Regions from separate parts of the Homo sapiens genome. Here region 2 is linked to region 1. The links are contacts of gene promoters, found by promoter capture Hi-C in blood cells and fetal thymus (Javierre and others, 2016). All regions are on one chromosome and are shown on one strand. Each heading gives the region's core, a stretch centred on a gene start or on the middle of the fragment in contact. The rest is flanking DNA. Distances are from core to core; before and after follow the strand shown.

The links. Contacts are between HindIII fragments. The CHiCAGO score rates a contact against its expected background, and 5 or more counts as called.
Region 2: a contact is called between a fragment that was not itself captured here and the fragment with the promoter of LIN7A in region 1, in 1 of 17 cell types (neutrophils). The highest score is 5.5, in neutrophils.

The regions. Positions count from the first base shown.
Region 1 is chr12:80,934,534-80,940,426 of GRCh38, reverse strand. It overlaps LIN7A (lin-7 cell polarity scaffold A), which reads left to right and starts at 2,493. Exons shown (of 6, transcript NM_004664.4): 1 at 2,493-2,786. The coding sequence starts at 2,705. It overlaps MIR618 (microRNA 618), which reads left to right and starts at 4,594; the gene lies at 4,594-4,691. RefSeq lists a silencer at 3,156-3,365. The HindIII fragment of the contact is 1,862 bases long and covers 728-2,589 here.
Region 2 is chr12:82,350,689-82,356,581 of GRCh38, reverse strand. It overlaps CCDC59 (coiled-coil domain containing 59), which reads left to right. Exons shown (of 4, transcript NM_014167.5): 3 at 1,988-2,087; 4 at 3,270-4,279. The coding sequence ends at 3,431. Among named protein-coding and RNA genes, the nearest start is that of CCDC59, 4.8 kb to the left of the region's middle. The HindIII fragment of the contact is 3,290 bases long and covers 766-4,055 here.

The DNA.
Region 1 (5,893 bases), core at 1,244-3,743:
AGATCAAGTATATCCCTGCATGTCTCAAAACGAAATTCACAAATATTATTGGAGAGATAGTATTTATTCATAAAAACAAATTCTAATGGATAATGAATTTTTATTAATTTTCTACACCTGTGTAGACATAAGCTAAAGGGAATGAACTTTCCACTACTAAAAATAATAACAGATGAATTTATGGTGATTTATGCTTCCTTTTAATTTCTCTTTTAATCTTGATTTAAAAACAACAACAACCCTACAGAGTCAACACAGAGAAAGAATGACAGAGCAAATTTCAAATAGGAAGCTCAAGGCAGAAGTCCAGAAATATGCTATGAAATGTTTAGTCCTGAGGATGCATTAGGAAACAAAAAGACAAAGAAAACTCTACCTTCACTGACACCACAATCAGGGATTTGTGTTGGAATGGGTACAATTTATGACTTTTGGGCTGATGAATCAAGCTGCTTAAATACATATTCCCTAATAAAGGATGTTGTAAAATAACTACATTAGAAGTCAAGGGATTTGTATGTTCTTTTATCCTCAGTTACCGAGTGAGGTTTAATAACTTTGTGCAAAAGCTTGTAACACACTCTGGTATCATTGCGCTCATCTCAACTTCTTTCTGTTGCTTAATTCAGGGCATGTGAATAACGGTAAAAAACCAAAGTTGTTTTTGCAACCTCTGGCCACCGAGGGCACTTCCTTTTAATAGTGCTTAGAGTACTGCACAGAAGCTTATGGTTTGCTCACTGTCTCCCAAGCAAGACTGGGCAGAAAGGGGGCCATCTCATTAATCTTTGCATGGTTAGCACCTAGCACAGAGCTTACCACACGGTTCCAGGGGATGTATGCTTGTATAAATAAATTTGTATATTCTTTACTGTTTTCAAAGCACAGTCACATGTATGACTCCATTAGACCCTCATAAAACTCTGTGAGATTGCAAGGTAGAATTAGTTTCCTCATATGACAGATCTCTGTGACATTGAATGATATTATTTCCATTGTATGACAGAGGAGGAAACAGGATCAGTGAGAGATTGTGTGACTTCCGAAGAGTACATGACTAAGACTCAAATGTCAAGATCAGCATTCTTTCTTAAATACTAAATAAAAATAAACATATCGAACTACTATTTTAGGTTTGTTCTTAGGGTCTGTTAAGTCTATATATGGCCAATCATCTTTGGCTTTCCCACATTGGTGAAATGTTGTTTTTTAAAATTCAATTGTAGACTATAAAATGAAAAAGACCTTCAGAAATCCTATCTGTAATCAGAAGAAAATGGCATCAATTATATGCAAATATTTTGCTATAAAACAGTATCTGCCTTTTAGAGTTTATTGTTAGCCCAAACAATTCAGCTCTGTCACAGGAAACAAGATGGAGGCAGCTTTGTCATTTCCAATCCTGCACCCACAGTCACCCCTATTCAGCTTATAGAAGGTTTCTTTATGTTTCTTGATTTCGTAGTCAGGAAATGAATCCCTACTATGACAAGATAGTGAAAGTAGCCTTTTTATTGGGGCGAAGAGGTCACAGCCAGTATTTGAAGGCTCTCGTAATTTAATCCTGATCAACTGACTCTAAAGTCAGGTTTTTAATAACACCATCTCCCACTAGATTACAGGCTACAGGAAGTCGGAGACTAAATTGAACTCCTAAATCAAGGCGTGGCACAAGGCAATGTAACTCTTCTATCTCAATTCCTGGCATATATGTTAATCAATCGATAAGTGGCATCTCTGAACCACTGGTTAGAAATCAACATGAAAAGTGCTAGGTACATATTTTTCAAACGTAGTCATAGACAACCAAAATCAGTTTGGACATTAAGAGCAAAGTTTTTGTTGCTGGGTGGGTGAGGGGGAGTGGGGCATGTTTACAGGATGTGGTATGTAAAAAATTCGGAGAAAATCTGAACACTGTACTTGTTTCTAAGCTACATTTACTGAATTGGTAATGTATTAACAGTGGCTTGAAAAAGAAAAACTTAGCGATAGAAACTTACCTACACGTTTTTTATTTTGAAGCACTTTTAAGAGGTTTGCCTTTTTTTTTTTTTTTCTCCAGGCAATATACTCAGGTCCTAAATGAACATCTACTGATGGAACGCTGGCCTTTAGTCAGTTATCTTTATATGCCGTTATAGGTCAACATTCCGAAAAACTTCAACAGAAATTAACTGCAAATGTAATTACATCCCAAACATTTCTGATAATGGAAGCATTTTCTCTCTAAAGGGGATGGGATTATTGGATTGGCAATTTCTCTTAATCTGAGAAAACTCATCTCCCACTCCCTTCCCCATATCCCCTTTCCATCCTCTCTCTTCCCCTTATACACACACGCACCCGCATGCACACACGTATATTCTGACCATTTTATTAGAGTGGAAAGTTGAAAGGAAGCAACCCGCCAGCTACACCCACCCAGCGCTCCTGGGGGTGGAATAGCAAAGTTCTAGGGCAGAGCCTTCCCTCCCAGAGCCCGGCGATGCAGTCGCTCTCGGATACCTGCTCAGCTCCGCACCGCAACTGAAGATCTGCCGCCGCGGAACAGTTGCGTCTCCATCTGGCTACCAACCCACCCAAGCTTTCTTCTCCACCACCACCACCTTCCTTCCTTCCCCCTCCTCCCCCTCCTTTCCGTCTTCCCTCTCCACCCCCGCCCCCAATCTCCTCCTTTTTTTCTCACTACGAGCGGTTGCTGATGCTGAAGCCGAGCGTCACTTCGGCTCCCACGGCAGACATGGCGACATTGACAGTGGTCCAGCCGCTCACCCTGGACAGAGGTAAGGGAGCGGCTCGCTCGCCAGGCCACCGCGTCCCCTCTCCCCTCCTCCCTTCCCCGCCTGCCAATTCCCAACGGGACATGGGACGCGCTCAGGCAGGAGGAGAAGGGGAACGAGGACGAGCCAGGAAGGCGTTCGCGCCGAGAACAGAACACTTTCTTCCCCTTTCTCTCCCCGCTACGTTCCCGCTGCCCCTTCCCACTGTACTCGCCCCGCCGAGGGGACGCCTCCTTCTGGCTCTGGGGTCCCCGCTGCCACTCCCAGCCCCTCGCCGGGTCGTCTCCGGTCCTCTGGCTTTGTTGGAGCCGCTGCGCGGGGACGGCTATAGGCGCCAGGGGCTCGGGGTTGGAGAGGGGCAGAGAGCAAGCTCGCCCGGCCAGAGCCCAGAGGAGACCGGCGAGGGAGCCGCCTGTCAGCTTGCTTGGCGCAGGGGCCCGGGAGGAAGGAAGTTTGTCCAGGCGCCGGAGGGCGAGGGTCGGTCCAACTGCTGGAGTCCCGGCGGCCACTCGGGGGGCGGGCTGGGCGCACCCCTGGGCTGCCGGGCGCACAGTGGCGGGGCTGCAGCAGGCAGGGAGCTGCCCTCTGCCGAAAGGGCAAGGCAGAGCGCGGGGAGCCGAGCCCCAGCAGCCGAGATCGGCTCTCCGCGGCTTCGAGATCGAAAGCGGCGAGGGTCGCGTCTGCTCCCGCCGCCGGCAGCTCCCGGTCGATAGCAACTCTCGGCTTCTCCCGCGCCAGCCTCTCGTGTCCTCTCCCAGCTCGGTGCCACCGCGGCGCCCAGGCTGCGGAAGGCGCGGGGACAAAGCGCAGGTCGGGTTAAAATTCAACTTCTGACCTGCCACCCAGTGAGTCCTGCTCTCTGACTTGAACGGGGAAAGTGTTCGCTTCCTCCCCAGGACGCCCTCACAAGCTCAGGGATGGAGTCCTCCGCTGCGATCGGGGCCTCACTGGTGCACCCCTGTGGGGTTATACCTGTCCCTGAGTGTGTGGGTTTCCTTCCTGGCTCCAGCGTCCAGTGATGAAGGCGCTCGAGTCCTACGGCTCTGCAGAGGAGGACACCCTCTAGTCCCTCTCCGCAGCCGCCGGATTTAGGACCCTGGGCGGCCATTTGGAAATGGTGTACTCAGAAGAAAATGATTTAGTCCGATGTACCTCTAAAAATTTTCTTTCTAGAGGATTAAACTGAACGATGGGCAAGGCAAAAGAACATCCTGCTGAGAGTACAGTAACAAAGCCAGTGAACTCAGTTTGAGGTTTTTAATTTGGAGAGACTGTGGGTGACTTTAACGCAATCTGTTGGCGCCAGAACAGATGTTCTGTGGTGCCCATAGCAACCTTTCTTAGGGTAAGAGTTGAAAAATAAAATGTAATTGATTTTATATTAGAAAATGTTGATTTGTAAGCTGGCAAAATTAATAACAGTAGTTAAAGACCTCAGAAATCCATTGTATAATCCATGATTTTACCCACAATATCATCATCTGCACTAAGCAGGATAAATCCATTGCCGGTAAGAACCAAACAGATGGCAAGCTATCAGAAACTATGAGCTTCCCAAGTATTTATGTTTTAATGTAATGAGCTCTTATATTGTCCCATTACAAAATCACAGTCGTTAAACATCCCAAATCAAGTGACTATGTTAGGAGCAAAAACTCCAAGAAGATTGCATACCTGGGTCATTTTATATACTACCACTACTACTAATAATACAAATATTTCAATGTTGGGTTTTACCTTAGCCCTTAGATGCCTCAGTCGGTTGATGAGAGGAGGTGCTAATCGGACTAAGATTTATTTTTAAAGTTTGCTCTTGTTCACAGCCAAACTCTACTTGTCCTTCTGAGTGTAATTACGTACATGCAGTAGCTCAGGAGACAAGCAGGTTTACCCTGTGGATGAGTCTGAAAAAATTCATCAGCAGCTCATGGAAAATCTATAACCAAGAGATGATGGGTTATTGGCATCACCACTGAGCATAAAGTCAATATATATAAATATTGTTCTCCGTATCTTATTCAAATATGATTAATTACTTTCATTATTAAACTGATGAAGGAAAAGGTTCTAAAAATTTCCCTTCAAAAAAGGTGCATTTTTAAAGAGGCAACCCAGTATTACATATCTGGGTCCTAGCTGCAACTCTGATACTCACTCTGCATACATCAGCCTCTCTGGACATCAGATTCTCTCTGTGCCACATCAGGAGTTTGAATTAGATGATTCTAACACTGTGCAGCTTTAGCAGTCTATAATTCAATTAATTAGAGTTAGGACTCAGTTTTTGGTCACCTACTGGGAGATTTTCCAGATCACCTCTCTCCCAGGCTGCTTTGGTACCCTTTGATGCGCTCTAAATTGACTTGCTGCTTTGGCCCCATTAAAGCATTTATCACACTCTGTTGCATTTGTCTATCCCTATTGGATAGAACTCCGTGAGGGAAGAGACCATTTCTAAATTCATCTTTGAATTCTCAGTGTCTGCTATAGTCCCTGACTCACAGTACAATAAAAAAATAATGTTAAGTTGGTGTAAGTAAACTCAGGATAGCAGTAACTTAAGCAATGTTAAAATATAGTGATTTCCTAGTGAACTGAGGTGCATTTCATAGATTCACAGTATTTTAACCATGGAAAGGATGATAGTGATAACATAGGCCAGAGATTCTCAACCTAGCTTTCCCCTATACACTTGATGGATTGCCGTCAGTAACAATAGCTCACTAAAACTGTGATGTTTAACCAAGAGGAATTGTGGCAGGTGGGCAAAGGAGAGGAAGGGAAGAAGGTGCTTGACAAAGCCTCCCAAGGGCATCCCAGCAAATCTGAATATATAATCCACAATTTTAGAGCTGCTAGTTCTTTTTTGGTATCTTCATTTTACAAATGAAAAAGCATGAAAATGTGATGATAAGAGATATTTTCAAGTTGCTCTACTATTTAGTGGAGATTTTTATATTACAATTGAATTATTTTTGTTTGCTACCTTTTGACATCATACATGGATATAGTCTTCAGGGCAAATGTTTTAAGCAAACAAATCAAAGCTAGGGATCGAAATTAAGATTTACTGCTTTCCAAATTTGAAAGATATATCTGAAAGTAAGAAA
Region 2 (5,893 bases), core at 1,161-3,660, 1.4 Mb before region 1:
TGACCTCTTCTTTAAAATGGGAAAAATAACACTATGTCCTCTTTAAATTGGGAAAGATAATACTGTAATGAATATATACTTCAGAGCTGCCATGTTGCACAGCTCCAGAATGGATTACTCACATAAACTCAGGTGTTCCTAAGGTGTTTCATGACATTGTTGTGAAGACTCAGCGAGTTAATGTATATGAGGATCTTAAAGGGTATATATGGTACGTGGTTAGTGCTCTTGAGCGTTAGCTACTACTATTAATCTGGATTTTCTGCAGAGGACCAGAAATGGGTTGCAATTGCAAATGCACAGCTCCGTGACGCTTTGGTTTTATAAGAGTTAACTTATAAAAAACTATCGCTGCATACTTAAAGTTAAAAAACAATGCTAAAATCTAAAATTGCAAGAAGCTGGGTATTAACTTGGGAGCATAATTTTTTACTTCATTAAAACCGTATCTTTTAAAGTCGTGAGCTATTTGCGCTAAAAATAACAGGAAATGGGACCACGGGGGGTAAAAATGTAATTGGGGATGAAGGCAGAGACACAAAAAGTTTACTACTTTTGGTAGGCTTGATCATTATATTGTTAAATAATCAGTATAAAGTTCAGGGAAAAGATTAGCAGTAGAAATGTAGATTTGAGTTATTCTCTGATAATTGAAGTAAGGAAGTTTAAATCATGAGAAAGGAAGGTAAAAAATCATGCTTTTAAAGATTACGGTTTATTTTGGGGTGGAAACAGGGAAAATATTGTCATTGAGGAAGTTAAGCTTTTCAGGACTGGAGAAAGAGAAATACAGTGACAGCTCAGTCCACAGAGAAAAGTTGTGAGGGATTAGTCAGCTATCAAATATTGTGGTCCCCCGTTATCTGTTTGGAAGATGTTCCAAGACCCCCAGTGGATGCCCTGAAACTGCAAATGGTACCAAACCCAGTTTCTGTCAATTGGAATGTATTTCTGTTAATGTCTTTTACTTGGGAATTTAATGCCTTTTCCATCTTAAATCACGTACTGTGGCCATAACTTTTGCAGTTTGAAGTATGACAGCAAAACTAGCATGAATTTATTTTTCCTTCACAATTTGATGTATAGAAGATTTTTTTTAAAACCATAGATCTTAGCAACTTCAACATACGATTTTTTTTCCTTCCTTATTAAGTCAAGAACTTTTACCTTTTCACTTAAAGCAAACACTCAGTGTGGTGTACAATTTAAAACATATGAATTGTTTATTTCTGGAATTTTTCAATTTAATATTTTTGGACCTCTGTTGACTGCAGGTAACTGAAACCGTGGAACAGGGAAACCATGGATAAGGGGTGTGCTACTGTACTATAAAGTTGAAGGTGAATAGGACTGAGGACAGGTCTCTGGATTTGTGGACTAGGCAGTCACTAGTCACTAGTCCAAAGTCGCTAGTGATTAGTAGCTATTAAAATATTATATTGTAGTTACAGAGTATAGTGAAAAGTTGAATGATAGAGGAAAGTAAAGTTATTACTGAATCAAGGATGCTGAGGAAATGAATGGAATTCCAAGTAGTTGGATTAGCCTTGACAAAAAGGACATCTTCAGAGAGGTGAGAAGTAGTTAAAGATAGAACAGTTCAAAATGGTATCTAGATCCAAGGTATGGTGATTCATGACTAGGTAGGTAAAATGGAATAGAGAGGAGGGGCTCAGAAAACTTCGAGATTAAAGTTCATATATACACATAATTTTCTTAACATCCTTAAACAACAAGTTTAATTCTTTTTTCAGTCTGGCATTTCTATCATTCATATACTGGTTTCATTACTTTTAAAAGTTTTTTTTTTTAACATTTTAGGATTTTTCATAGCTTTCTATATTTTTTCCTAGTTGAAATATTTCTCTAAGAATCCCCATTTGTGCCTTTTATTTAATATATACTCTTAAAAGCTACAACTGTGTTTTTAATACCTTTTTGGACATTTTACTAATAAAGTCCTGTTTCCTCATCCCCCAATTAAAAGCTCCTTTACAATTCCAAAGAAAAATAAAAAGAAAACATCAAATCAAAAAGCACAAGAAGAATATGAACAGATACAAGCCAAACGTGCTGCTAAGAAACAAGTAAGTTCTACTTTGAAAATATTTAGTATAGTTTTTCTTATTTATCCTAAATATATATACTATACCTGTTGTGCTTCTTGGTGCTGGGCACACAGTATTCTCTCTGTAAATATTTGTTGAATGAATGAGTAGTCTGAGCAAAGGTAGAGGATTGCATCTTATTCCAAGTCCTTGCTTGTATTATGTCAAGCAATACTAGTAGGTCAAAAATAGGATTTTGAACACATTGTTTATAGGTCAATATTGTGAACATCTGGGACAAAGTTTCACTGAGTTTGGTCCAGGAACTTGCACTTGTTAACAAGCACCTCAAAAGATTTTTATGTATGATAAAACTTGAGAACCACTGACCTAAGAAAAATATAGATGATTTTCATAACATTACATTGAAGAAAGTAAAAGCAAAGGGGAGGTGTTAGAATAAAATACTTTTTTACTATAAAGAGGTGTTCTTGCCTGTTTAAAAAAAAAAAACAACTATTATTTTAGCTTAGCAAAAGTTAGCACTCTATTATTTAGAAAACCAGAATTGTAGACCAGAATTAGGCTTTTTTCAAATGAATACAGAATTACCCACAGCCTCAACAAAATTGTCATTTTGTTGTAACTGTGGTAGTTCTTGTTTTTCCATTGAAGTTTTATTGATCTGTAGCTTTAAAAAGTATAATGTGTCAGTTAAAAATACCCTAAAGATATGTAATTTTGCTTGTTTTTGCTTTAGAATATCTGTAATTAAGAATTCTTAACATCAAAAATGTTTTCATTGTTCTTAAGCTGGTGGCAGATTAGGAGAAAGCAGGAAAATTTCTTCATGGGAATACTGGACCAGTATTAACTAGCACAGCTTTATGCTTTTTCCAACCATCTGTCACCTTTGGAAACAGTATATCAGATGAAGTGCAGTAATGACCATTATGCTGTAAAACATTTAATGTCCTTTTAAAATTTTGTTTATATAGAGCTGGGGCTTTGTGATCATGAAAATTCTCTGTTATACCATGGGTCATTATAATATGAAGGCAAAGAGGGTACTTTGCTTCAATTAGGAGAAACAGTGCACATCTTGCAAAATAGAAGAGACAAACCTTAGAGTGTTTGCTTAGTAATAGCTATTTCAAGACAATTTCTGAACTGTATCTACTGTTTGTTGCTAATGAAAGTTACATATGTTAATAATTTTAGGAATTCGAGAGGAGAAAACAGGAGAGAGAAGAAGCCCAAAGGCAGTACAAAAAGAAGAAAATGGAAGTGTTTAAAATACTGAACAAAAAGACTAAAAAGGGCCAACCAAACTTGAATGTACAAATGGAGTACCTTCTTCAAAAAATACAAGAAAAATGTTAAACATTTTGTTCCTACAGGTTAAAATATCTGCTGCCTATTAGGTTCTTCTGTGACATGTGCCTCCCAGCAGTGAACTAAATTTGTCGACATAAACTGGATTGCTAAACTATGCTAAATATAAGATGTTCACATATTTTTATTATGGTAAAAAATTTTCTAAATATGTTCTACATGTTTCTTATTTATTTGCCTCTGAAGGAAGGTTGGCCTGAAGAACTGAAAGAACCTCTTATTTTGCAAGACAGGCCCAAGCATGTAATACTTTTGTACCATATGAGATTTATATGAAATAAATTTTTTAAAAATAAGGAATCAGAGCTATCAATGAAGCATTTCAATGAAATATTTCAATTTAGTAAACAGTTACGTTGTTTTAAAATTTATTTTAATGATGAGGGAGGCAAAGACTCCTCTTGGACTTTTTATTTATTTTAAGTACATGTTACAGGGTGATGGGTGCTGAAATAAACTGCCCTCACCATATAACAAAGCGACCTTCACAAAGCAGTGAACTCAAAGTCTGATATTTATAAACATTCCCTTAAATGGATGTACATGGCTTGTTAGTCTAAGGTCTTTTAAATAATGATGGAAACCCCACAGTGTCACAGCAAGAATTAAGCTTTCCAGTTCCTATGGACCCTATACTTTAAGAACATTATCTCTGTCTCCCTTGTTGGTACCCTTGTGAGCTGAGATAAGCCACTGGGATAACTGCTTCTCATGCTTTGCAAATTGCAGAAGAATGAGAAAGGCTTGAAATATATATATAGTCATTGTAAGCAAAAAGGGCTGACCAATAATACTTGCCAAATATTGAATAATAAAATTTTATAAATGATAGCAAATACAGTCTGAAATTGCATTAAGATTTTAGGGAGCTCTTTCAGTCTACTAATTTATTCTGCATTTCAAGATCAGTAGAAAGTGCTTAGATAACACTGAACTTAATCTTCATTGCATAGAAAAGCAATGCTTTAGAAATTTGCATTGCACTATATTGCATTTAAAGTAAGCAGCCCAGAAAGCCTAAATTTGGCTACATTGGTGAAGACACATCACATCATGATGGAGGATAAATTATTTCAGTAAATTGCTTTACAATTTTTGTGCATTTTCACTTCTAGACACTTAATCATGACAAAACATGGAAGGAGATCTAGTCCTTTTGAGAGACAAGTGAAAGTCAAATTATATTCATTTTAACGACTTTGTTAAAAGCTACTTTATGCAAAACTTATATTAAGGAGTTACTCTTTAAAATTCCAAAGTTCTTGTAGAGGAATAAATGCCAAGTAATGGTATAATGGGGGAAAAAGTAATCAGTGACAATCAGATAAAGCAAAAGGTTAAGATTTTAGTGTTATCAATGAAGCACCCAGGAAGCTTTTCCTTTTTCGTTTTTTTTTTTTTTATTATCTTGGTGGTGGACAGTCTCCCGCCCACGCTGCAGTGCAGTGGTGTGATCATGGCTCACAGCAGCCTCAAACTCCTGGGCTCAAGTTATCCTGCTCAGCCTCACGAGTAGCTGGGACTACATGTACGTGCCAACACCTGGCTAACATTTTCTGTAGAGATGAGGTCTTGCCAAGTTCAGCCTTGCCTGGGCTGGTTTTGAACTGGCCTCAGGGATCCTTATGGCTCAACCTTGGCCGTACAAAGTGCTGAGATTATAGGTGTGAGCCACTGTGCCTGGCCTATAGGCTTCTTAAGAGGCATGTTTGAGGACCCTACACTAAGGAATTTGGATACTGTAGATGGGCTTAGTAATGGATGTTTTAACAGGCAACCCCAGTGATTCTGCTGGGTTGCTCCTCGCCACACTTAAAAAATGTTGGACCAGGGCCTCAGAGAAGAAAGAGGTTTTGTTTGGTTTAAGAAATCAGAGAAAGTTTCATGTGTGCAATAGCATTTAAGGAAAGCCTTCGAGGTTAAAAAGATTAGAAGTGTAAGAGCATGAGGAAAGTTACAAAGGGAAGCAAGCTTGGTATTATTTAAATATCTAATAAGTAGTTAGAATATATTATTATTGATGGAGGTAATAGTTCCTATCGGTTCCCTATTGTTTCCTTCCATGTGGAGAAGACACCATCATCCAAACACTCATGGTATCTTTACTTCTTGTCCCACTTGTTCCACCCAGGGGAGGTAAAGTAATAAATGATGTCTGGGAGGAGGACCTGGGCTGTCAGCAGAGTGCATGTACTCTTAATTGCTATTCTAATACTATAAGTGAAGAACAGGCTATATTGATAAATGTTAGAAGGGGGATGGATATTTTTGGAAAATATATATAGAAATTTGTGCTATATGGGTTAGTACATCAAGAAATAAAAGAGGAATAAAATTTGAAGGAGCACAACATAGAAAGAGAGAGGCTTAATTGTGGCCATAGCTTATGGTTTCTGGTTTCAGACCTTAATGTATACGTAGGGAGCTTTGATCTTGGTAGTTTGTAGAGG